6 separate regions of the Homo sapiens genome follow, and all the other regions are linked to region 5. Evidence: promoter capture Hi-C in 16 types of primary human blood cells and fetal thymus (Javierre and others, 2016). All regions are on one chromosome and are shown on one strand. The core of a region is centred on a gene start or on the middle of the fragment in contact, and the rest is flanking DNA. Distances in the headings are between cores, read along the strand shown. Region 1 overlaps ADK (adenosine kinase). Region 2 overlaps ADK (adenosine kinase). Region 3 overlaps ADK (adenosine kinase). Region 4 overlaps ADK (adenosine kinase). Region 5 holds the start of SAMD8 (sterile alpha motif domain containing 8). Region 6 overlaps ADK (adenosine kinase).

What was found. The method cuts DNA at HindIII sites, captures the fragments that hold promoters and counts their contacts. A CHiCAGO score of 5 or more calls a contact.
Region 1: a fragment that was not itself captured here is called in contact with the fragment with the promoter of SAMD8 in region 5 in 1 of 17 cell types (M0 macrophages); the score reaches 5.1 in M0 macrophages.
Region 2: a contact is called between a fragment that was not itself captured here and the fragment with the promoter of SAMD8 in region 5, in 2 of 17 cell types (naive CD8 T cells and total CD4 T cells). The highest score is 8.2, in naive CD8 T cells.
Region 3: a contact is called between a fragment that was not itself captured here and the fragment with the promoter of SAMD8 in region 5, in 15 of 17 cell types (naive CD8 T cells, monocytes, total CD4 T cells and 12 more). The highest score is 17.9, in naive CD8 T cells.
Region 4: a fragment that was not itself captured here is called in contact with the fragment with the promoter of SAMD8 in region 5 in 1 of 17 cell types (total CD4 T cells); the score reaches 6.9 in total CD4 T cells.
Region 6: a fragment that was not itself captured here is called in contact with the fragment with the promoter of SAMD8 in region 5 in 6 of 17 cell types (naive CD8 T cells, neutrophils, fetal thymus and 3 more); the score reaches 7.0 in naive CD8 T cells.

Annotation. Positions count from the first base shown.
Region 1 is chr10:74,381,620-74,386,013 of GRCh38, forward strand. The region is part of intron 4 of ADK (adenosine kinase); the gene reads left to right. Among named protein-coding and RNA genes, the nearest start is that of ADK-AS1, 150 kb to the right of the region's middle. RefSeq lists an enhancer at 2,990-3,069. The HindIII fragment of the contact is 1,124 bases long and covers 1,400-2,523 here.
Region 2 is chr10:74,313,347-74,317,725 of GRCh38, forward strand. It overlaps ADK (adenosine kinase), which reads left to right. Exons shown (of 11, transcript NM_006721.4): 4 at 1,321-1,399. Among named protein-coding and RNA genes, the nearest start is that of ADK, 160 kb to the left of the region's middle. The HindIII fragment of the contact is 2,056 bases long and covers 1,586-3,641 here.
Region 3 is chr10:74,268,927-74,273,259 of GRCh38, forward strand. The region is part of intron 3 of ADK (adenosine kinase); the gene reads left to right. Among named protein-coding and RNA genes, the nearest start is that of ADK, 120 kb to the left of the region's middle. The HindIII fragment of the contact is 7,286 bases long and covers 1-4,333 here.
Region 4 is chr10:74,411,957-74,416,392 of GRCh38, forward strand. The region is part of intron 6 of ADK (adenosine kinase); the gene reads left to right. Among named protein-coding and RNA genes, the nearest start is that of ADK-AS1, 120 kb to the right of the region's middle. The HindIII fragment of the contact is 310 bases long and covers 1,309-1,618 here.
Region 5 is chr10:75,108,930-75,113,281 of GRCh38, forward strand. SAMD8 (sterile alpha motif domain containing 8) reads left to right here and starts at 2,727. Exons shown (of 6, transcript NM_001174156.2): 1 at 2,727-2,793. DUSP13A (dual specificity phosphatase 13A) reads right to left here and starts at 228. Exons shown (of 3, transcript NM_001007271.3): 1 at 80-228. The coding sequence starts at 228. It also overlaps a transcript of DUSP13B not described here. RefSeq lists enhancers at 1,537-2,486, 2,487-3,435 and a silencer at 2,474-2,813. The HindIII fragment of the contact is 16,308 bases long and covers 1-4,352 here.
Region 6 is chr10:74,288,252-74,292,505 of GRCh38, forward strand. The region is part of intron 3 of ADK (adenosine kinase); the gene reads left to right. Among named protein-coding and RNA genes, the nearest start is that of ADK, 140 kb to the left of the region's middle. The HindIII fragment of the contact is 8,920 bases long and covers 1-4,254 here.

The DNA.
Region 1 (4,394 bases), core at 712-3,211, 730 kb before region 5:
CCCTGTAAGAAGAGTAGAAGAAATGTGCCCTAATGCTAACTGTGCATGAAATTGCAGTGTTAGGAGATATTGACCAGATGTTTCAATCTCAGCAAATGGCTTGTTATGTGACTGAGTGAAAATATCTTTGCTGCTTTGATCACATACACCTTGAAGGAAGGGGTAATTTAATAGAGGCTGTCATAGTTCATCATTGTCAATAAACTTTGACTTGACCTTTGCCTTACGTTTTTGATGTTGCTGCTGTTAAGTGTTGTTGGGCAGATGTTTACTGCCTTGAGGGATTTTGCTTTTTATAAAGTGTATACTAGAAAAAGTAAAGGAGAAGGATTTTCTCAATTCTTTTCTTATTCTTTGGTTATTAGTTGGCATGCTTCTCTGTGGATTTTGTAGAATTTCTGGGCAGATGCATTTGAGTGACATTCTTATGTCTAAAGATCACTGTGGTGTTTCTCTAAAGGTTTCTTCCTTTCCTCACCTTCCTTTTTCTTTTCTCGAGACATGGTCTCACTCTGTCACTCAGGCTGGAGTGCAAGTGATGTAATCTTGGCTCACTGCAGCCTCTACCTCCCAGGCTCAGGCGATCCTCTCACCTCAGCCTCCTGAGTAGCTAGAACTACAGGTGCACACCACCATGCCTGGCTAATTTTTGTATTTTTTCTAGAGATGGGGTTTTACCACATTGCCTAGGCTGGTCTCGAACTTCTGAGCTCAAGCCATCTGCCGGCCTCAGCCTCCCAAAATGCTGGGATTGCAGGTGTGAGCCACCGCACCTGGCCCTTTCTCACCGTTTTGTCCTGGTTTTAATTTACCACAATAAACTTCCTTGGTGGTTTTTCTTTCTTATTTTATATACAGCCTATTCTTTTGTTCTGATGAAAGTCACATTGAATTAAAACTTGACACCTATTGTAACACCATACCAGGTGCTGTGTTATTTTTTTATCCCTAGTTTTGGAGACCTTTGGAGATAAATCCATGCTATTTTGTAATCCATTTTTGTTAATCTTAAGAAATTGAGTGAAAGTTTCAGTAACACAATTTTTTTAAAATTATAAGATACAGTATTTTAAAATTTTGGTAAATAGCTTTGGATTAAATGAGTTTCTTGTTTAATTTGATGAATTTGACTCAGTTCTGTAACCTTTTTGCTCTTTTTCTTGAAAAGAAAAAGGCTTCCTCACTGGCTATATCTGGGTTCTGCCTACACTCTTCCCTCACTTCCCCTTGGTGTAGGTGGCCTAGACCGTGTTAGTCACCTAATGAAATCTGTGAATCCTCTCTTGAAAAACACAGCAAAGTTTCCTTACAATTTCAGGATGTTTATTGGATTTTCCCCCCCTCCTCTCACACATACCCTGCAATGATAGGGGCCCCTGGACTTCAAGCAGACTAACAAAGCTTAGAAAATAAGATTCATACTCCTTCTTAGTATTCTAGATATATAACAATTTGACTTAGAAGTAACAATAACAATAGTATTAGTGATACTGCTACAATAATTACAACAGTAATAATAATAATAATAATTAAAATTTACTTTCTGCCAACCTTATGCCAGATTCTATGCTGAACCTTTAACCTGTATTACTGGTTATATTGTTAATGATACCTCTAGATAGAGTATATGCAGCATACTTTTATTCTGTACTTTAGGAAATACTATATCTTTAGAATACAGATTTGAGTAAGAGATTATAAGCATTTTGATTCTAAGACTTTTTGGAATACTGAACTTTTAGTTTTCTGATTCCAGTAGTCAGTCTGTCTGTCTCTGTCTCTGTCTCTGTCTCTCTCTCTCTCTCTCTTTCTCGGCCTCTCTGCCATTCATCTTCTTCTGAAAATTAGCTATCCCACGTAAGCCTCATATATCCCCTAATTCCTATTTGTAGTTGTGAGGGAGGAAAAATATTTTCCTTCTAAGTTCTCTGCTGTAAGATTCTTGTAACAAAAGACAGATTAACAAAAGTTAAGTACACTAATTTATATTCTAAGTTTTATGTAACATAGAGGGAAATGAAGACTTGAAGAAACAATTAAACCTGGTGTTTTTACATTAGGTTTTATGAAGAGTGGAAGGGAAAGGCAATAGGACAAAAAGGGGTATGAACTAAGAGTAGTAAACTGAGGGGACCTTAGCAAGACCTGTTTGTTTAGATTCATCTCATGTCCTTACATCTTCTGAGATAAGGATGTTCTTTTTTTCTGCATATAGTAAACATCCTCTCACATGGATGGTCTTATGATTTGCTTCAGAGGAAATCAGAAAGTCCTTCCTGCACCTGCTGTTCTCAAATTCCTTCAGCTTAAAATTTTCAGTATGTCAAGTGCCATATTTTGGGGGTAGTGTGTCCTGATCTCCATCATAGTTAAGTGTCAGCTTGGACACAGTTTCTCATATTTATCTTAGGAAATCTTCTTTGGCCACTCTGCAAAGACTAAGGTGCTACTTGCATGTTCTGCAACAACTCCTATTATATATATATCATCTCTTAAAATAAATAGTAACATATCTTGTATGTAAGCTTTATGTACCCTTAAATTGTAAGTTTTAAGAAGATACAATCCTGGCTTTCCTGTTCACTTATTTGACAATTATTTAATTGCATAGAATGTAGCAGGCACTCTTCTAGATTTGGAAACACACCCTACAACTCTTTTAAAAAAGCCAAGAAAACAGTCTTGAACAGCAAATTACAATTAAGTGGAATTAATTCTATGATAGGAATGATACAGTTTGTTGCGGCAACATAAAATGCAGGCATATAGGCTGGGCACGGTTGCTCACACCTGTAATCCCAGCACTTTGGGAGGCCGAGGTGGATGGATCACTTGAGGTCAGGAGTTCAAGACCAGCCTGGCCAACATGGTGGAACCCCACCTCTATTAAAAATGCAAATATTAGCTGGGCATGGTGGCGTGCACCTGTAATCCCAGCTACTCAGGAGGCTGGGGTAGGAGAATTGCTCGAACCTGGAAGGCAGAGGTTTGCGGTGAGTCAAGATCGCACCACTGCTCTCCAGCCTGGGTGACAGAGCAAGACTCCGTCTCAAAAAAATAAAAAATAAATAACAATGGGTATATAGAACAGAATTTAGGACAACATTGTCTCAGTAAGTGAAACCTGAAACCTAAGTAGGAAGCTAGAAAGAACAAACAGAAACAGAATGAAGTATTCAGTGTACTGGAACATTGCATTCAAGAGTGTTAATGCTTAGGATTAACTTGGAGAGGAAGTTAATGGTTCAATCATAAAGTTGTTTATGTTGAACTTGCTTAAGATACTTGGGTAACGATTGAAGGACATTTTAGGAAGAGCACTCAAAATGCAGTGGATTGGAGAAAAACAGAACTAAAGGCAGGGAGATGATCTAAGAAGCTTTTGCAAATGGTTGCATGGTTGGGAGGATGGAGTGACAGAGAGAATGGGAAATGACATCCAATGGGTAGAGGTTTCTTTTTGAGATAATGAAAATGTGATGGTTGCACAGCTATGTGAATAAACAGGAAACAACTGAATTGTATATTTTAAAGTGGCAAATTGTATGGTTATATGAATATATCTCAATAAATTTTTTTAAAAGAGACTTTTATAGTAGTCTAATTGAGAGTAGATGGTGGCCTGTACTAAAGTGGTGTTAATAGAGGCAGGAGTAAAAGTGTGTCAATTTAATAGGCAAAATAGGGTTGAGTAGGTATTTGGATATTCAGAGCAGTCATTTGAAAACAAGTATAAGCTAAAAATGAGGGGGTCTCAGCATATAGATGATAATTGAAACCATGAGAGTAGATTAGATCATATCCAGAGAAAGTATATACGGTAAGAATTGTAGGTAACCTGGGAATCCAGGCCTGAGAAATGCTAAGGAATGGGGAGAAGGAAAGAAGCCTACAAAAGAGATAGAGAAGACTTCTTTATCCATTATTAATTACAATAATGTCCAACAAATAATAGGTGATCAACAAATATTGGTGGAATGAATTGAATGAATATACACTAAAAATTCTGCATTTTATCACAGTCTCAGGGCACTGTTGTCATCGTCAGCTGTACTCTGTAATAGGCACTGCCTTGAACACTTTGCTTACATTATCCTATTCAATCATCACAATAATTCCACAAGAAACATAGTCTCTGAAATAGTAGCTTGTTTACCATCACATGGCTGGATGAACTTATATATCTGAGTCTAAAGTTTATTTTTTCTACTAGGCCTAATATTCCCCGAATCTGTTCTGAGAATGTTAACAGATATTTACTAACAAAAATAACAATAGAACTATTTCAGGGAAAGAACAGGATTATTAGAAATTGATTTTTATTAATAGGATGCTTGCTGGCAGGGGCAATGGAGCAGTTTTTTAAGGAAAGAAGCATAACATACTAGTTATTC
Region 2 (4,379 bases), core at 1,364-3,863, 800 kb before region 5:
AACATCTCCTTAGTAATTTTTTCCACATAGGAAAAAGGATTATTAAATATTACTTTGCCTTATTAACCTGATAATTTGAGTACATATTGAAAATTTCTAGTTTCAAAAATTTCCTCCCTTCTCAGCATAGAATACATTACTCCATTATATTTTTAGCATCCGGTATTCTTTGAGAAGTTAAGTATTAGTCTGATTTTTATTCCTTTTAAGGTAATTATTATTTTTCACATTATATGCTTTAAAGGTTTTATCTTAATATGAGAGATTAAACAAGATGTGTCCAAGTATGGGGTCCTAGTCCCTAATCCCTTGTAAAACTGCTTGATGTTTGGAAAAATCTGACCATATTTATGTTTCACCTTTTTTTTTTCCAACATTTCTCTCTTACTCTTCATAATCTCTATTTTCCCTTTCTGTATTTCCTGTTAAACAGATCTCAGACCACCTAATAAATTCTCTACACCTTTTAATTTTTATTTCATATTTTTAATTTCTTATATTTTCTATCTACTTTTTTGGTCTTTTTAAAAATTTCAACTTTTCTATTTTTATCTTAGTTTTTACCCATGCATATTTTGATTGCTCAGGTAATCCATCCAACTATTGATTTTTCAAAAATTTTTCAATAATTGTTAGTGTACAGAAACTGTGTCATTCTCTAGCTGCATCTTTTCATATAATTAGATAGGTCTGTTTGTGGCATCTTTCTTTCCTTGCTTTACAGGCAGTACTGTTATACTTTTGTTTATTTTTATACATAAAACATATTTTTTGACGTTTAGTAAGATGTGGAAGAGGAAATGAACATATACTTCATCTCTTTTGAAGTGTAAGGTCTTATAATTTTCATACTTCTTGAACTGATTCCAAGGGTAACATTAAGTGAAATTTTGTTTAGTTTCTATAGAAAACTCTGTTAGTTGTCTGGAATGAGGAGAAATACATGCTGATTTCTGTATGTTTGTAGTAACAAGTGATTCTGAGACTGGGATTCTGATTTTGACTTAACCAGTTTGCCACGTGACCTCCATTTGGCAATCTATTAATTATTACTTTTACTTTCTGTTTAGTTTAATGGCCAATTATGGACAGTCTGTTTTAAATTCTTAAATTCTTATAGTTGTACACTTATGGAAAACATTTCTTAAATGTGGAAATTTAGTATTTTTGTTATAAGATATTTCAATTCATTTATTCAACATACTTAAACAATAAAAACATTTTACTATTTGTGTTTTAATACTCTTCTGCTCAGAAAAGTTTACTTTGTTGCAACTCACAGAAGGTAACTTACTTTTTTCTACTGTGATTTCCTTATAGGTTTGATGAACTTGTGAAAAAATTCAAAGTCGAATATCATGCTGGTGGCTCTACCCAGAATTCAATTAAAGTGGCTCAGGTTGGTTAATTATTTTAAAAGTTAAAAGGATTCAAAATGATTCTAGACCCATGTCTATTTTGCATAATTGTTTCCTTTTATATTGTGTTGCTGTAGAATAGTTTTGTTCATTTGAATTGGGATTTTAGTAGTCATTGCACATCTAATCAAAAGTTATTTTAATTGGTATTTCTTTGGTTATTGGTAAGCTTGAACTTTTAATGTTTATTGTTCATTTGTGTTTCTTCTTAAATTGTTTCCTTTCACTATCATTTTATAATTTTTCATGTTACAGATTTGTAGAAACTTCATATTTTATAGATAGTATTCCTTTTTATTTTATAAGTTGAAAGTATTTATTTTTTGTTATGTGTACATTAACTCTTACAGTGTCTTTTACTGTGCCTTAGTTCTTAATGTAACTTTCAAAGTTTTTAACGTAATTAAACTTTATGGCTTCTTCATTTCCTGCATGTCCCCCTTACGAAGGACGTTTCTGCCACAAGATAGTAGAAATTGCTCTGTATTATATATAGATATCTATATACATAAATGTACATTCATATATTCATACCTAAATATCTATGTATAGACATATATGTTGGTAGATATGTATATGCATCTATATATCTATACCGGTGTATATCTTTTATAAATCTATATATCTGTCTCTATTCCCATATCTTCCAATGAGTAATTGAATAAACCCATTAGGCATATACTCTTTGAGTTACCAGCTTAACCTAATCTTGATTGAGAGAGTTAGTGATCTGTTTAATCTTCCAGCTTTGAAAGATATGAACAAGTTTTACATACCTCTGGTTCTTACCTCTGCAGTTTGAAGTTAACTCAAAATTCTGCTCATTGCAATCATGTGTCAGTTCTGCCTACACTAGATTTCTTTTTCTTTTTTATTGATTAATGCTTTCCCCTTGAATTCTGATTAACTTCAAGAACTGGGGAAGTGGAAAATTGACAAATAAAATCCAGAATGATTTCTTTTCAAGTAACTCTTAGTTGATTGAGACATATAGTATGATTATTCCACATACTTCCAAGCTCAGATTTAATCATAGTTTTCAAATATTTTGTAAAAATGAATCTTTAAGGCGGTCATTAATATGAAGTGGCCTGAGTCTTTGTATTGGTCAATTGATTTGTATTGTTTTTGGTAAAACATCCTGGTGGTCACTTTATGAACTTCCAGAGTAATAGAAAAAGGATGATTTACGGCCAGGCACGGTGGCTCACGCCTGTAATCCCAGCACTTTGGGAAGCCGAGGTGGACGGATCACTTGAGGTCAGGAGATCCAGATCAGCCTGGCCAACATGGTGAAACCCCGTCTCTCCTAAAAAAATACAAAAATTAGCCAGGTGTGGTGGCATATGTCTCTAATCCCAGCTACTTGGGAGGCTGAGGCCAGAGAATCGGTTGAACCTGGGCGGTATAGGTTGCAGTGAGCTGAGATCATGCCACTGCACTCCAGCCTGGGCAACAGAGTGAGACTCCATCTCAAAAAAAAAAAAGAGAGAAAAAAAGGATGATTTACTTAAGCCTTAATTTATCAAGGCACGTTTTGCATTTTGCAGTTTTCAGTCTTTTCTCCTGCTAGAACTGGGGGTGATATGGTTAGGCTTTGTGTCCCCACCCAAATCTAATCTTGAATTGTAATCTGTATAATCCCCACATGCCAAGGAAGAGACCAGGTGGAGGTAATTGAGTCATGGGTGCAGTTTCCTTCATGCTATTCTCCTGATAGTGAGTGAGTTCTCACAAGATCTGATGGCTTTATAAGGGGCTCTTACCCCTTTGCTCGGCATTTCCCATTCTTGCTGCCTTGTAAAGAAGATGCCTTTCTTCTCCTTTGCCTTCTGCCATGATTATAAGTTTTCAGAGGCCTTTCCAGACATGCTGAACTGTGAGTCAACTAAAACTTTTTTCTTTATAAATTACCCAGTCTCAGGCAGTTCTTTACAGTAGTGTGAAAATGAACTAATACCGGGAGGCTATTAGCTGTTCACTAATAAATTGTCTCCTTTCTTGGGGATCTTCATCAGTTTCTGCCTTCTAAAAGTTTATTAATTATATAATTAAGTTCTCCCTCAGCTTTCTCCCTGATATTAGTCTCATAATAAAACAGTCATTGCCTACTTTTATTCTTTTGCACTTTTTTTTTTACAATATTTCACATTCATTCTAACAACGTATTCTAGTAGTGGTTTATTTGTTCCTGTCTTTAGCAAGGTAATAAAAGGAATTTGAAGCTTTGGGTAACTTATTCTGTCAGATCTTACTAGTAATCATACTTTCATGTATCAAGTGATATGGCAAATTATGTCAACAAGAAAATGTCCCCAAAGCTCTTAGGTATTTTGATATGTCAAATCATGTTTTTGAAGATTTTAATGAAACCATAGGCAACAAAAACAAGTATGGTTGATATCTTGTCCAAACACAATTCTAGATTTATTTGATACACAGCACAAATGTAAATTTTGGTAAATTTCATTTGGTCTGAACTTCTTCCTAATGAAAGTGAAAAGTTCTTATCTGCTCAATATCCTGCACAGCATGTATATAACACTGCTAAAAAGGGGTATAACTTGCTTAAGTTTGATAATTGATGCTTTCTTAATGAACACTTTTGGTTACTTTGTCAGTTTTTAAAAAATTTGTAGAAGCACTTAATGTGAGTTTTGACTTGAAAGAAATGGAAAAACGTTGGCATTGTGACTCATGCCTGTAATCCCAGCATTTTGAGAGGCTAAGTTAGGAGAATCGCTTGAGTCCAGTAGTTTGAGACCAGCCTGGACAACATAGTGAGACCCTGTCTCTAGGAAAAAAAAAAAAAAAAAGAAATGGAAGAAAATGACTTCCTTGGATATGTGCCTAAAAGATGGCTATTATTGTTGCTGGACATAGATGCCCTGCAGTACAATATTAACAAAATATGGGACCAAAGGAATGCCCATCTCTGATTTGGCAGTACATTGAGAATGA
Region 3 (4,333 bases), core at 1,124-3,623, 840 kb before region 5:
TGTTTGGGGAAATAATATCAACTGCTTCATGTGTTTGAAGAATAAAAGGAAGTTGGCAGCAAGGGAGAAAGATGAATGATTAAGTATGGCTTAAACTTGTTTTTTAATTAAAGTGCTTCATTGTTGTACACAATATTCAAATTATATTTAAATGTAACATTAATTTTTCTATTAACATTCATCTTTATTAGAAAATATTGCTTGTATTTATCATAATTTTTTTCCCCACCAACTATAACACTCTTATAATCTATTTGGGTTAATGCGTGTGTAGTCTCAAGAAAAGAGCCTCCTTAATTGTTTTTAAACTGTTTGAACACTAGAGATTTAGTAACCTACATTTCCAATAACTAACAATACATATGAAACTCTTGATAGTGATGGAATAGAACTAATCATTTCCTTATAATATAGTGATACATCATTATTTGACTTATGGCATATTTAACTCTGGTTAGCTACAAGCAGCTTTATACTGGTGTCTTTTATTCAGATTTGAGAAGTATCAGTGTAACATATAAAGAACTTATTTTTACTAATTTTCACCATATTTTATAGACACAAACCACATGAGACCAAAAATAGTGTATACTGACCTGGCTGGTCATTTTATGGTTGGTTATTGTGTTTATTATTCTGTACTATGTTTGTTGTATTTGTGCTTTAGTTGCTATTTATTTTTAAGAATATTGTGTTATATAGGTGTAAAAGTGATAAGAATGTGCCAGGTATGGTGGCTCACTGTAATCCCAGCACTTTGGGAGGCCAAGGCAGGCAGATCACTTGAGCTCAGGAGTTCAAGTATATCTTTTGTAATCCCAGCACTTTGGGAGGCTAAGGCAGGTGGATCACTTGAGCTCAGGAGTTCAAGACCAGCCTGGCCAACATGGGGAAACCCTGTGTCTACTAAAAATACAAAAAATTAGCTGGGCGTGGTGGCACGTGCCAGTAGTCCCAGCTACTCGGGAGGCTGAGGCAGGAGAATCGCTTGAACCCAGGAGGTGGAAATTGCAGTGAGCCAAGGTCATGCCACTCCACTCCAGCCTGGGCAACACAGCCAGACTTCATTTCAAAAAAATAAATAAATAAATAAAAGTGATAAGAATGTGACATGTTAATAGGGAGAGATATTAGTCCGATGGTAATTAAAAGCAGAGAAAGTTTTAAATAAACTAAATGGTGAAGAATTGGTTTGTTCAACAATAGGAGTTATTTTGAAGAATAAAGCAAGTGATTAAACATGTGAAAAGTAATGTGCCTATGCCCCAAAGTGCTATTGCTTAGTGGGTTATATCTATTGATAATTACAATATTAGAAATTAAAATGGAAACGGTTGAAAATATTCAATACATTTAAAGATAACTGTAATAAACCCAGTATTTGCTAGCATAAACACATTTTTCTGGAAAATAATGATATTTTCTAAACCAGAAAAAAATAGTTAAAAGAATGGTATTGCTTTTTGCAAATCTCTTTAATGTCTGACTTAGTAGAAGACAGCTGGATTTTCATCTGCTTCTGCCTGCCATCTGTTGTAATATATTGAACTGATCCAGAACTCCTGGTCTCAAGCCATTGTTCCACCTCGGCCTCCCAAAGAGCTAGGATTACAGGTGTGAGCCACTGCACCCAGCAAAGCAAATAGTTTTAACCTTGTTGGTTCCCTGAAAAGATTTTGTGGGACCCTTGTAGTCCTTAGACTATGCTTTGAGAACTGCTGGCCTTAGCAATTGAACGTAAGTACAGTAGGAGACATTGGTAGAAATGCTTTTGAATTTACAGTAGAGTCTGGGCATCAATATTAGATGTCTATTGATCTTTTATTAAAAGACTAAGAGTTTGAGAATTTAAAGGCTAAAACATTATAGGTCCTGCTGATCAGACTTTTCATAGCCAGATAGTTCTGTAGGCTTAAGGCCCTTTAAATCCAGATAATGTCCAAGTAAGTGGCAAGGCAGCAATTTGGATTCCATAGCTGCTAAAAAGTTTTTTACGGCATTTGTACATAGATCATTAAGAAGAGAGGAATTATTTCTCACAACCAATTTTTAGTGTAGACAAAACTGGAATATTTTGGAGAAAAATGTCTTAATAGAATGCATATAGCGGTAATGTAGTCTTCTATTTGGCAGGAATATATATAGGGATGGTCACTTTAGATTAAAGAACAAATAAAACTTAACCTACTTATAAACAGAGGCTTCTGTATTGAGAATTTTTCTTAGTATAACATATATTCACCTTAGTATCAAGTTGTGGGGGTTTTTGATACCCCCAAATTGACAGTTATTCAGCTGAAACTTGGAGATAGGACAGACCTTGATTAATATTTGGCAATAATTGTCAGTTCTAATGTTGGAATTTTTGCTCTAACCTTGTTGATTAAGCATTTAACTTATTTACATTTTTATGCTTAGGGATTAAAAGTATGTCTACTTTACATTTATATTCAGGTATATATATATTTTTGTTGTTGTTGTTGTTTTTTCTTATTATTATTATACTTTAAGTTTTAGGGTACATGTGCACAATGTGCGGGTTAGTTACACATGTATACATGTGCCATGCTGGTGTGCTGCACCCATTAACTCATCATTTAGCATTAGTATATCTCCTAATGACTATCCCTCCCCCCTCCCCCCACCCCACAACAGTCCCCAGAGTGTGATGTTCCCCTTCCTGTGTCCATGTGTTCTCATTGTTCAATTCCCATCTATGAGTGAGAACATGCGGTGTTTGGTTTTTTGTCCTTGTGATAGTTTACTGAGAATGATGATTTCCAATTTCATCCATGTCCCTATAAAGGACATGAACTCATCATTTTTTATGGCTGCATAGTATATATTCAGGTATATTTTAAGGCAGTTTTTAAGTATATCTTTTTTCTTTAATAGTACTTACAAAAATGTAATTATTTGATATGACAAAGCTGCTTCATATTTTCATATTAGCTTGAACTTTCCATTGATATGTCAAGCAAATAAATACTTAGTTTTTTTCTGAGTAGAAACCAACTGTACTGCAAACCCCATTGATAGTAAATTAATTGCAGGGATTTAACATGTAGGGAAACCTTAATTATTCTGAATATACTTATGTTATGATGTGTAGATGATTTGTTTACTGTCTTTAATGTGACTGAGTCAAAATATGTGTAGTTATTTGCATAAAAGGGAAGTGTTGCTAATATATTTTGCATTACTTAATGTTATATATAAAATTAATTTTCCTTGTAAGGGATGTGAGAAATTTTTTTACTCCTCATTTCTGTTTATTCTCATCTATTTCTTTGAAAATGTAGATTTAATTTATTTAAATACTGTGTGATGAAAACATTACAGATATGTTCTTGCTCTCTTTTTTTTTTTGAGACAGGGTCTCACTCTGTCATCTAGGCTGAGTGCAGTGGCATAATCATGGCTCCCTGCATGTCAACCTCCTGGGCTCAGGCAGTCCTCCCACCTCAGCTTCCTGAGTGTTTGGGACTACAGGCGCGCACTACCATGCCGGGTTAACTTTTGACTTTTTGTAGAGATGGGGTCTCACTATGTTGCCCAGGCTGGTCTCAAACTCCTGGATGCAAGCAATCCTCCTGCCTCAGCCTCCCAAAGTTCTGGGATTACAGGCATGAGCCACCACAGCCAATATGCTTCATTTTCTACCTCTGATTATAAATTAAAGGATAGTATTATAAATGCTTAATTTTATAACCTCCAAATAGTGATATTGTATTGCTCCTTATTGTGATGGATAAATTATAAGACATATGTGTTTAACTGGTTTGGTGGCAAGTCTGTTTACAGAAATTTGCTGTTAATTTCTCAGTTGTTCACATGAACTTATCTGATTTATAGCTTTGGCCAGCAATTTACAAAGAAAGTTCAGTCTGTAGGGCTTCCTGTTGCTCTGAGTGGGGGCTCCTTCTACCCCTGTTCAACTTCAGTCAGCCCATGGTCTATAGTATACCTCTCACAAGGTCCTTATACTGCAGATCCTCTCTGCTGCAGATGCTTGGGCTTTTGCCTTAAGCACACTGGTGTAATTAGAAGAAGTAGAAAAGAAGAGAAAGGGTGAATAATAAGAGATGAGAGGATTTAAAAATGGTTGAAACAGGAGTTGTGAAGTTTGAGTGTGGTGGATATGGAGATGTGCAGCCCTGATCCTCCTTCAAGGAAGAATTGTGGCCCAGTTGTGGGGAGGTCAGTCATCAGAAAACCTTCAGCTGTCTGGCCTACAGAGGACAGCCAGAAAAAAAAAAAAAATTGCCTTAAGCTGTCAGCTCCTTCAGGCTCTACCTCAGTTGCGGAGAGCCTCCTTGCTTAAGGTCACATC
Region 4 (4,436 bases), core at 214-2,713, 700 kb before region 5:
ATAAGAAGCAATTTCTCATCCATTCAAGTTTTATCATGTGATTGCAGCAATTCAGTCCTATCTTCAGGCTTCACTTCTAATACTAGTTCTCTTGCTATTTCCATCACATGTGCATTGACTTCTTCCACTGAAGTCTTGAAGCCCTCAAAGTCATCCATGAGGGTTGGAATCCACTTATTCCAAACTCCTATTAATGTTAATATTTTGACCACCTCACATGAATCGTGAATGTTCTTTTTTTTTTAAACAGGGTTTTACTCCTGTCACTCAGGCAGGGAAGTGCAGTAACAATCACTGCACATTGCAGTCTCAATCTCCCAGGCAAGCTCAAGCAATCCTCCCACCTCATCATTTATTTTATTTTTGTAGAGACGAGGTCTCACCATATTGGCCAGGCTGGTCTCGAACTGCTGGGCTTAAGTGATCCTCCCACTGCGGCCTCCCAAAGCGCTGGGATTGCAGGTGTGAGCCACCATGCCCAGCCCATGAATGTTCTTAATGACAACTGGAATGATGAATTATTTTCAGGAGGTTTTCAATTTACTCTGCCCAAACCCATCAGATGAGTCACTATGGCAGCTATAGCCTTATGAAATATATTACTTAAATAAGATTTGAAAGTCAAAATTACTCATTGATCCATGGGCTGCAGAATGAATGTTGTTTTAGCAGCCGTGAAAACAACATTCATCTTCTTATACGTCTCCATCAGAGCCCTTGGGTTACCAGATGCATTGTTAATGAGCAGTAATATTTTAAAGGGAATCTTTTTTTCTGAGCAGTAGATCTCAACAGTGGGCTTAAAATATTCAGTATACCAGCTGGGCACAGTGGCTTATGCCTGTAATCCCAGCACTTTAGGAGGCCAAGGCGGGAGGATCACCTGAGGTCAGGAATTCGAGACCAGCCTGGTCGACATGGTGAAACCACATCTCTACTAATAATACAAAAATGAGCTGGGCATGGTGGTGCACACCTGTAATCCCAGCTACTCAGGAGGCTGAAGCAGGAGAATTGCTTGAACCCTGGAGGCGGAGGTTGCGGTGAGCCAAGATTGCGCCATTGCACTCCAGCCTGGGTGACAAGAGTGAAACTGTCCCCAAAAAAAAAAAAATTCAGCATACCATACTCAAACAGGTATGTGTTCATCCAGGCTTTGTTATTTCATTTATAGAACACAGGCAGAGCAGATTTAACATAACTCTTAAGGGCTCTAGGATTTTTAGAATGGTAAATGAGCATTGACTTCAACTGAAAGTCACCAGCTGCATTAGCCCCTAAAAAAAAAAGAGTCGTCCTATCCTTTGAAGCTTCGAAGCCAAGCATTTACTTCTTTTTAGCTGTAAAAGTCTTCAATAGCATCTTCTGCCAGTAGAAGACTCTTTTGTCTATGTTGAAAACCTGTTGTTCAGTGCAGCCACCTTCATCAATGATGTTGGCAAGATCTGGGTAACTCTTCAGCACCTGCTATTTTACCTTGCACTTTTATGATATGGAGATTGCTTCTTTCTTTCAACCTCACAAATTAGCCTCTCTTAGCTTCAGACTTTTCTTGCACAGCATCCTCACCTCTCAGCTTTAACAGAATTGAAAAGAGTTAAGGTTGTGCTCGGGATTAAGCTTTGACCTAAGAGAATGCTATGCTGGTTTGATGTTCTATACAGACCAGTAAAACTTTCTCCATGTCAGCAATAAGCTTATTTCACTCTCTTATTCATGCGTTCACTGGAGTAGCACTTTTAATTTTCTTCAAGAACTTTTTCTTTGCATTGAGAACTTGCCTGTTTGTTGTGAGAGGTCAAACTTTCAGCCTGTCTCACCTTTCGATATGCCTTCCTCACTAAACTCAATCATTTCTAGCTTTTGACTTAAAGTGAGAGACATGCAACTCCTCCTTTCACTTGAACACTTAGAGACCACTGTAGGATTATTAATTGGCCTAATGTCACTATTGTTGTGTCTCAAGAAATAGGGAGGCCTTAGGAGAGGTAGAGAGATGGGGTAATGGCCAGCTGGTAGAGCAGTGAAAACACAGCATTTATCAGTTAAGTTCACCATCTTCTATGGGTGTGGTTTGTGGCATCCCAAAACAATTACAATAATAATATCATAGATCAGTGATCACTATAAAAGATATAAAAGTTTGAAATATTGAAAGAATTACCAAAATATGACAGAGATCCAAGCGAGCACATTCTGTTGGAAAATAATGACACCATACTCAAGGCAGGCTTGCCATAAACCTTCGATTTGTAAAAAAAAATAATAAAAAGGTATCTGTGAAGTGCAATAAAATAAGGTATGCTTATACCAAAACAGACTTAATTATGCTATTTCTTACCATTAGTGTTAGAGTTCAGTTTCTAATGTTTTTCATTTTCCATATGTTATTGATGTTCAGTGAGTTACACAAATTATTTACTGTTGTTACTTCCACCTTAGTAGGGAGAATCTTTGATTTTTGCTGGATAAATTTTCAAACAAGAGTGTGATTATAGGCTGGACGTGGTGGCTCACGCCTGTAATCCCAGCATTTTGGGAGGCCGAGGTGGGCAGATCACTTGAGGTCAGGAGTTGGAGACCAGCCTGGCCAACATGGTGAAACCCCCTCTCTACTAAAAATACAAAAATTAGCCGGGCGTGGTGGCGCATGCCTGTAATCCCAGCACTTGAGAAGCTGAGGCAGGAGAATGGCTTGAACCTGGGAGGCAGAGGTTGCACTCCTGCCTAGGTGACAGAGTGAGACTCCATCTCAAAAAAAAAGAAAAGAAAGAAAAGTGTGATTACAGAGATCCTATTTGTGTTTATTTTTAATTTCTCTAGAATTTGTTTTCTTCAATAAATAAAATTCTAATACCAGTTTTTTTTGAGTAACACTGTGATTTTTATACAGAAAGACTTTCTCCAAATTGGAGAATGTACTCTTTTATTCCTGTAATTTTTCTTAACTCTTATTTTTGGCAGCTACCAAAAGTAAAACTCTCTACCAAGACAGAGAAGAAATCTTTGGGAATATTAAGTAATGTTATTTTTCATTACACGGACTAACCTTTTTACTAAGAAGAATTGGGATAGTATTGGTTATGGGAGCTTAGGAGCCCTAAAGATAAAGATTGGAAGATTTTGTGTTGTGGACTTGTGGCACTGTAACAAAGTCTGGGAATTTTATGTGAGATTGGAAACCACACTATGTGCTAATTGCCTCAGAATGGTAAGAAAATAAGCATATGTATAGCATTTAGTTGTTAAGACAGTAGGCACTTATGCAGAGCCCCAAATGAATTAACAAATCATCTACTGAAATATTTTCACTTCTGTTTACTTTATGTATTTTAGACCAATCAGCAGTTGCTTGAGAAAATGAAATGTTTACTAAATCTCTTTAATAAACATGTTTAAGAGAGGAAAAACTTATAAACATTCAGATGGCAGTGTACATTTTTAAGTGCTAGTTGTCATATCTTTGAAATTGTATGTAAACTGGACATAAACAATCAAGTGTCTACAGAATGGTATCTGTCTTCCAATATATTTACTGAAGATATTATAGAATCTTTATAGTTTAATATGATTTACCCCACATGTTCTGTTGTTGCTATCTTTTCAGATAAAGTTGAATTTAATCTTTCTTATCAGCTTTTATTGAGGTATTTATGAACCATTGAGTTCACCCACTTAAAAAATATCATTCAGTGGCTGTTAGTGTATTTACAGAGTTCTGCTACCATCACTGTAATCTAATGTTAGAACATTCACATCACCACAGAAGGAAATGTTATACCCATCAGTAGTAATGCTCCATACCCCCTGGATTTAATCTTATATCCACATCTCTCATAATAGTTTCAGTGGTATCTAGTTATTATGACTACAAATGATGCAATTGTTCCTGATTACACAAATAATGTATTTATGTCTTTATTGTTGGCATGTAATGGAAGACATAATAAGTCTGCTTTGATCTCTTGCTCTTACCTATTTCTCTATTGCAAGTGTTATAAAGAGTCTTTTAAGCTTTTGCTCATATATATAAATATATATATACATACATTTATATATACACACACATACATATATACACACACACACACACACACACACACACACACATATATGTAATGCTACCGTGTTTGAGGGTCATGAGGGTCAGTTTTTTGAAATACCAGTTTTTTTCTGATTTAGGTGGATGACATGGTACGTGAAGCTTAAAAAAAAATTTGGTAAATTGGTATGAAAAAATGAGAGGACAACGTTTTTCCTTTCTGGTACTTAGCAGGAAGGCAAGTTCTTGTATGAACCCATATTTCCTGTTACCCATTTTCAGACCAATATTGGTTTCTCATCTATATAATAGGGATCTTTTGACTCTAACCTCTTAAATCTATCATGTGTTTTCTTTCTTCACCTTGGAAATAGCTTCTTGAAGCCCCAGACTT
Region 5 (4,352 bases), core at 1,477-3,976:
CCTCCTGTGTCTGGTAAAGCGACCAAGAACTGCCTCTCCACGTCCCCACCCCCATGCCCCTTGGCCAGCTACCACTCACGCATCTCCTATGAAAAGGTTGGGCCAAACTTCGTCCACACGGCTGCAAGAAGACTTCCCTGCCCGCAGGAGCTCCTCCAGCTCCAGGATGCTGGGGCAAGGCGTGGCTTTGTCCTCTCCCCCCAGCTCTGGGAGAGAGGTCTCAGCCATGGGCCAGCCCGCCCACCCCTCTGCCTCTGTGGTCACTCCTCTCTGCCTCTCCAGTGTCATTTCTCCTTCCCAGAGATTGACAGGGACAGGTGACAGAAGCAAGTGACTCAGCAAGTCACAGGGGCCTCTGGAGTGGACAAGACCTTTTCCTCCCCAAGCCTCCCCCCACCCCCAAACTCCATGAGAACACAGAATCAGAGAGACCTCTGCAAGTCAGCTACCACCCTGAACCTCAGTTTCTTCATCTGTAAAGTAAGGATAATCACACCTACCTCAGAGAATTTGAGGATTAGATGAAACAAAGGACATGCTGGGTCTGACACATAGTAGGTGCTTAGAAACATCTGTGGAATTAGTAGATGTAGAGCCCTGCCTAAGGCTATTAGGTTCTGAGGACTGAGTTAAAGTAGAGATCCAGGGTGCAGAGGAGGTGGCTGGTTCCAAGGATGAATGATAGAAAGAACTGAAAGAAGTGTACAGTCTAGGTGGGCCACAAATTGGGCAGGAGCTGGATTGGATGTCTGTTGGATGAGTCTCTGAATTACGGAGGTCAGGGACAGTTTTCTGAGTTGTAGAGTCAGAGAAATATGGGTAAGAGACATGGAGAGCTTCCTTTAAAGGGTGCCCACAAGATTCATGGGGGGAGGGGGAAGGTGTTTTTTTTTGTTTTGTTTTGTTTAGACAGGGTCTCACTCTGTCACCCAGGCTGGAGTGCAGTGGCATCATCTTGGCTCACTGCCACTACCACCTCCCAGGTTCAAGTGATTCTCCTGCTTTAGCTTCCTGAGTAGCTAGGATTACAGGCATGTGCCACCATGCCACACTAATTTTTGTGTTTTTAGTAGAGATGGGGTTTTGCCATGTTGGTCTGACTGGTCTTGAACTCCTACCTCAAGTGATCAGCCTGCCTCGGCCTCCCAAAGTACTGGGATTACAGGTGTGAGCCGCCGTGCCGGGCCAATGGGGCAAGGTTTGAACAATGGTCCTGTAGTGAAGATGGCTAACTTCTCAGAAGAGAAGGCTGAAGAGGGCCTTGTATGTCAAATGGGGAGACGGGAGGTGAGTGTTGCCCTAGACTTTGAGAGCCAAAGGGGCTAACTGTCATCAGAAACAGTGGGAGGGAGATTCCTCTGCCTATAAGGGCTTTGGGTCCCAAAATAGAAACTGAGAAAGGTCAACCTGTCCTTCTGCCAGAGCTGGTTATCAGCAAGAGAGATGAGATGTCTCACCCTCTCTCATGTGACTTCTCAGTGGCCCTAATGGAGCTGGGAAGGGTATGAGCTGCAGTGGGGAGGTTCCCAGCTGCCCTTGGCCTTAAGACCAGTTTGAAGGGAAAGGCCACACCAGGGCATCCCATGGAAGCAGTCTACACTCATGTCTATCCCATTCAGAACCATTGAAGTCGGCCCGGCACTGTGTGGGGAGGCAAGACCAAGGAGGGGCTCGTGTCCAGGTTACAGCTGGGTTTGGACTTGGTTTATGCCAATGCTAGACCTGGCTTGGGAGGAGACCTTCCCTCAGGGTGGTGCAGCATGGTGGAGTGAGGAAAATACAGGATCTGATGTTAGAGAGATTTGGGTTGGAATATCAGTTTGCAATATGTCAGGCAGTATGTTTCTTTACTTTTCTGTGCTATAGGATCCCCCTTGCAGAATTAGCACTAGGATTTTTTTTTTGAGATGGAGTTTGCTCTTGTCGCCCAGGCTGGAGTGCCATGGCGTGATCTCGGCTCATTGCAACCTCCATTTCCCGGGTTCAAGCGATTCTCCTGCCTCAGCCTCCCGAGTAGCTGGGATTACAGGTATGCACCACCACGCCCGGCTAATTTTTGTATTTTTAGTACAGACGAGGTTTCCCCATGCTGGCCAGGCTGGTCTCGAACTCCTGACCTCAGGTGATCCCGCCTCAGCCTCCCAAAGTGCTGGGATTACAGACGTGAGCCTCCGCTCCCGGCCTTAGCACAAGGATTAAATGAGATGTTTATATGGCGTTTGGCATAGACACTGTCAAAGAGTAAATGGGCAATAAATTATAACAATGATCATTGGGGGCTGGCTATTGGAGAAGAGCTGGCTCTCTCCAGAGGAATTCGGATTACCTCCTTCTAGGCCCTAACCCCATTTACTGATCCCACAGGCCCCGCCCCGGCTCCGCTAGCCCCGCTTCCTCCTGTCGCTTTGGCCTCCGGCATGACGCATGCGCCCTCGGGCTCCTCCGCGGCAGCATCTCGGTTCTCCTCTCGGGCCCATCTGGAGCCTCGCGTCTTTTCCAGTGTGGGCCCCGCCCCCTGCCGGTAGAACCCCGTCCCCGGCCGGTAGGGCCCCGCCTCCCGAAGCAGTTCCGGTTCGGCTCCGAGCAGCTGCCGGCGCGGCGGTGACGGCGGCCGGGACGATGCCTGCGCGCAGTCGCCACCGCCCCCGCCTCCACTCCGGCTCCCCGCCCCGGGCTCCGCCCCCGCCGCTTGAGGCGCTTCACTCCGGCGAGGCGGGGAGGGCCCCGGACTCCGACGGCGGCTCGGACGCCGACTCGGAGGTGGGTCCGGGGAGCCCGACTCGGACCGCGGAGGTGAGCGGGAGCTGAGGCTGAGGAGAGGGGAGCTTGGGGGGCGCCTGCTGCCAAGGGTGAGTGGGGAGTCTGGGATGGAGCCGGGGGCTGCCGAGGGACCGCGACCTGGAGGGGCCCCGGGGAGACGGTTGAGGGAACCGGGATAGTCAGCTCTGGAATGGAATCTGAAGCAAATGGAGGTTGTCGAACTGAGGGCCTGAAGGCTGAGGGATAAGTGGAGGCCGAGGAACGAGAGGGAGAGAGCGAGAGGGGGAGGCTTGAAGAGCCCAGAGCTTGGGGGCTTTTGAAAGCTGCGCAGTGGGGGAAAAAGATCGAAGGTCCTGCGGGAATGTGGACCCGGAAGAAGAGATGCTCTGGGTTTGGCAGCGGGGATGAGGAGTCAGAGGAGCAAGACCTGGGCCGGTGTTCCCTTCCCAGGGCGAGGGAGGGCGATCGGGGCTGGGACTGGAGCCCTCTCATGGGGTTCTCCTCTTACGGAGCCCTCTTATCCGCCTCCCACCCCGGGTGGGGCTGGTGGTGATGGAGGGCAGGATTTAGGTTTGACTAGAAGGAGGAGGGCTGTTGGATGGGAAATCGTCTGGCCTCAAGGGGTGAGGGAGGCACTGAAAAAGAGAAGTGTGGTCAAGAAAGAAAAGGAGCCCTTGGGGATCTAATTTTGGGCTTTGGCATTTTTACAGGTGCCTTTTAAAACATCAAAGATCACTAGGGCAATGTACTTGGATCGTGGGGCTTTCTCGTTCGTGCACAGTGGATCATTTTAAGAATCTTGGGTGGAAGGGGCGGTGTGAATCACTGATTTGCCTAAAGGACTGGGGGAAGTAGTGGAGAGGAAGTGATGTTTGAAGAAGGTAGTGGAAGACGTGATTCTGAAAATGAAGATATCATTTGGATTTATTGACAGTAATGGTGTCCTTTTTTTCATTGTAATTTTTTCGTAGCTAAGTTTAAATACCAGACATGTTAAGATCCTAAAAATTTACTATATTACCTTTAAGTTTTAAAAACTTGAAACAAGACTTTGGATACTCAGATTTTAAAAATTAAACTTGAAACAAGAATTTGGACACTTGGATTTTACAGATACTCAACATGGACTGGTTCCACTTTCAAAGTTTTAAGTTGACACATGTATTTGCCACATAGTAAATGTATGGTCAATGCAAGTTTCTGGGTGAAGGGGGCACAGTGAACTTGCCACAGTCTAGGCGCAATACCAAATCTTCCTCTCACTGATAACCCCAGGATTGGACTTATCTCTTGAAAATTGGAGAGGTACCTTTGACTGATTGGCAAAACCAATATTGAAATACTATTTTGCAGGTATTGTGTGAATAGTATTTTTAGTAGAGTGATTTGGAAAAATAAGGACAGAGGATGCTTGTAGTTGGCAGCCAACACAACTGGGACAGGTGGGTATACAGATGCTTTTTATAGAAGACATAGTTCCAAAACATAATTATGCCAGAAAAAGAATGATTGCAATATTTATATTCACTTTAGTAGAGATAAATTGACTTCCTTTTGTGATTGTTAAGTCATAACATGGTTCCATGAAGTCT
Region 6 (4,254 bases), core at 110-2,609, 820 kb before region 5:
TCATGACTCAGAAAATGTATGAAGATGAGACAAGGTAGTTGCCTATTGGAATCTTAAATGATACTTTTAGTAGAGATCATGTAAATCTGTGTTGATGTTAAAGAAAAGTGAACATAGGCTGAGCGCAGTGGCTCATGCCTGTAATCCCAGCACTTCGGGAGGCTGAGGCAGGCGGATCAGCTGAGATCAGGAGTTCGAGACCAGCCTGGCCAACATAGCGAAACCCCATCTCTACCAAAAATACAAAAATTAGCCAGGCGTGGTGGCGGGCACCTATAATCCCAGCTACTCTGGAGGCTGAGGCAGGAGAATAGCTTGAACCCGGGAGGTGGAGATTGTAGTGAGCCGAGATCACACCACTGCACTCCAGCCTGGGTGACAAGAGCGAGACTCCATCTCAAAAAGAAAAGTGAACATAAACTTTTAAAACTTCATTACAGAGTAAAAAGTCTTATTACGTTTTTCTGGCCAAAATTTATAAACTTTTAAAATATTTCAGTGAAGTTGAGCTATATTAGAGGTATCTCTTTATGTACCTCTGGAATGGAACTTTGATAACTGTTTATTACAGTAGAAAATAGGATCTAAAATGGGTAAGTTCATTATTTCACTTTGCTTTCTTAATATTCATGGAAGGTATTTTGCCGAAATTATTTTTGGAGAGTATATGAAAAGTAAGTAATATTTTATAAAACTGTATTGCAGCTGATTTGGAGAATGAGTGGCTACTTTGAAAATTGTCAGTAGATAGGAAATAAAAATAACAGAATGAAGCAGCTCACACACTTCAGAGTTTATTCTCAATATTGTTGAATTGGGCCATAATGAAGCATAATGCCTGGTTAAACTTTATTGCAATTCAAACATCCCACCAGAAAGAAATTTTTAAAAACTATATCAACAAATAAATTCACTGAAGTCTGTCTATAGCTTCTTCTAGGAACTACAATTTATTTATTTGTTTATTTTAATATTGTTTTTTGTAGAGACAAGGTCTCACTTTGTTGCCCAGGCTGGTCTTGAACTCCTGGGCTCAAGTGATCAGCCCGCCTCTGAAAGTGCTGGGATTACAGGCATGAGCCACCGTACCTGGCTGAAGGAACTACATTTTTGATATGGTACTCTGCTTTAAACGCAGTAGGTACTCTGCTGAATTGGGCTAAATAAACATTTCACCTCTCAAAACTATGTGAATATTTGGCTTAAGCAAAGATAGCCTGGGACCATGAAGAAAGCTAAAACACTTAAAAAAAATGTACCCTTATTTAAAAAGTAGCATGTTTCTTTCTGATTTGGAGTGTTATGTTTTTGTTGAAAAATTGGAAATTACATAAAACCAAAATGAAAAATATAGAGATGATCAGTAATTTCACCATGAATATAATACTCCTCTTATCATTTTGTATTCCCTTCCAACTAATTTTTCTCTTAAAAGTGGCACTATGTTTTTGAAAAAGCTGACTACTTTAAGAAAATTTCTCTCAGTTTACTTTCTTAATCGTGTGCTTTTCTGAAGAGTTGGCTCTGACGTTGACTACTATAGTAAATCCAATTTTGATGAGTTTTTCTTTTTTAGTGGGCCAAAAAAAAAAAAAGGAAAGAAAATTCTCCTTTGTAGAAAAAGGAGGGAGGATGGAATGTATATTGTAGTACACCTGAAAATCCATACCTTTTCTTAGCCATATACACAATTAGTTTACTCTTTCTCAAGATAATATTTTTATAGTAAATTAGGATTCTTTGTTACAAGTGATGGGAAACCAAACTAGTGCTATGCTAGGTTAAAAAAAGGAATTTAGGGACTCAAGTCACTAAACTACTCACGCGCACACACACACACACACACACACTCACACACACTCACATAGGGGTTCAATTGGGCCTTAGGAATGGCTAAATCTAAGGTCTCAAAAGCTGTCAGTTTTTTTCCTTCGGTTCGTTCTTTGTCTCTGAGAGTTAGCTTCACTTTGTCAGCCTGCTTCTTTATACTCTTCCTGTTTTTCACTCTGACTTACTGTGTTTATAATTATCTTGGGTTAGTTTTTCTTATTGCTCATTTGGAAAAACTATCAGTACTTCTGATTAGTAATTTCAGATGTTTTTATATTTTAATTTTGTATGCAAAATAAGTATCCGTGATATTTTAAAAATATTTACTAAGTATTTCCCTAGTCTTTCTCTAAAGGGTAATCTCAAATGAAACAACTGGAACTGGATTCTCATTTGTTTAATGACTGAAGAAGTCTTCCAATTACTCTACAAACCATTGATAACTTTTGTTATTTGTGACCAGTATTCATCTAGTAAGATGTTAAATGCTTTTATGAAAGAGACAAGTGTTTTACCTAAAGAATGAGAAAAAAAAAACCCTAATTTTTTGTGAAGTTTTCTCCTTTTTTGCTGAGTGCTTAAAGAAAAAAAGTTTATGTTGTTTTAGGTTTTTCTTCTTGCTTATCACCCTAGGAACTAATTGTGTTACTTTTTAAATGTTTAAATTTAATTTTTCCTGTCCCTTCCCCATGCTTGCTAATTATGTTTTTTAAAGGTGACCCTTTAAGATGGCTCTTATAGAATAAAGAGAGACACTGAATTTTCTAATCTTGTGGAAGAGGTTATATTTAGCCATTGGTATTTTAAGTTGGAGCACTTCATTCTACTGTGCCTTTAGTTTATGAGTCATCTGGAGAAAATGGGCTGCTTCTTGCTTTTAGGAAGAGTCTGTAGCAAATAATAATAATAAGTGCTATGGGAGATTTTTTGCCAAATAATTTAAAATGGAAAATGTTTTGTAATATATTTTATTGCCCATATGTAAAATACGTACTAAAGAATATAGGAGTTTTTGGCTCATTATTATCTTTAGCTCATAAAAATAAACAAAAGAGGCTGGGTGCGGTGGCTCACGCCTGTAATCCAGCACTTTGGGAGGCTGAGGTGGGCGGATCACGAGGTCAGGAAATCAAGACCATCCTGGCTAACACGGTGAAACCCTGTCTCTAATAAAAAATACAAAAAATTAGCCGGGTGTGGTGGCAGGCACCTGTAGTCCCAGCTACTCGGGAGGCTGAGGCAGGAGAATGGCGTGAACCCAGGAGGTGGAGCTTGCAGTGAGCTGAGACCGCACCATTGCACTCCAGCCTGGGTGACAGAGTGAGACTCCGTCTCAAAAACAACAACAACAACAACAACAATAACAACAAAACCCTAATGTCACATATAACAAAAAGAAAGCATTTTCTACCAAAACATTATATAGATTGTTATGAGTTATAGGTAAGTGGAAAGCAAGCATAAACCATATGAAATTATTTTATATGCAGGATGTACAGCAGTGGTCAAATCTTAATGATAATTGTCAGTAACTGGGGAGAATATTGTGATTATTGAAGTATTGATTTTTTTTCAAATATTTTTATATTACATGTGGTAACTTTTTATAATCTTGTTTTATATCTACTTTAGTATGATAGCTTTACCATACTAGATATTCTATGAGGGGTAGACAGTTGGCAAAGGATGTGATATTGATTCTAATTTTGGCTACCTTTGTATTATGTGTATCATAATGATTTCACGCTTCAGTTTTCTCATCTGTACAGTATTTTGTTCTTCGTGACTTTTCTTGCAGGAATGAAAGGAGGTAGCATGGAACAAAGAAAAAAGTGTATCATATTGTAAAACAGGAAATTTTAAAGTCCTAGAGTTCAGATTTTAAATCCAAGATGTCATTTTTGAGGTAAATTTGTCAGGTCTCCCTGGGACACAGAATGACTGCATCACTAGAATCATGAGCCCGTGGGATTGTTTTTTTCTTTTTCTCAAATGTATTTATTTAACATCTCTCTCCCTCTCTACTTACCTACCTGCCTACCTACCTACTTACCTCTGTTGTGAAACTTTTGGGAGCTCAGTATTGTCTACTATACCAAGAATACCAGTCCTTTACTCATTTTTTTGCATTACAAAGATCATATGGAATATACTGGAGGGGAATTTAGGTCTTTTGGTTCTGTGTTAGAAGAGCCCATTTTGTTTTTCCCTGCATGTGGTAGTCGGTGTATAGGCCTGTTTCTGTGATGGGAAGATGACACCTTTTGTCAAATCTCTATCCTTTTTGTATGTCAAGGAATCATTTCTTTGCAGTGAAGTAGAGTGTGCCCTGTAGTATAGCACTCTGTGTCCTTAGTCATAGCAATATTGGAGGATTGGAGAGTTAATCATGTTTGAGAAGTTAGGGGACTTGTTCTTTCAGCA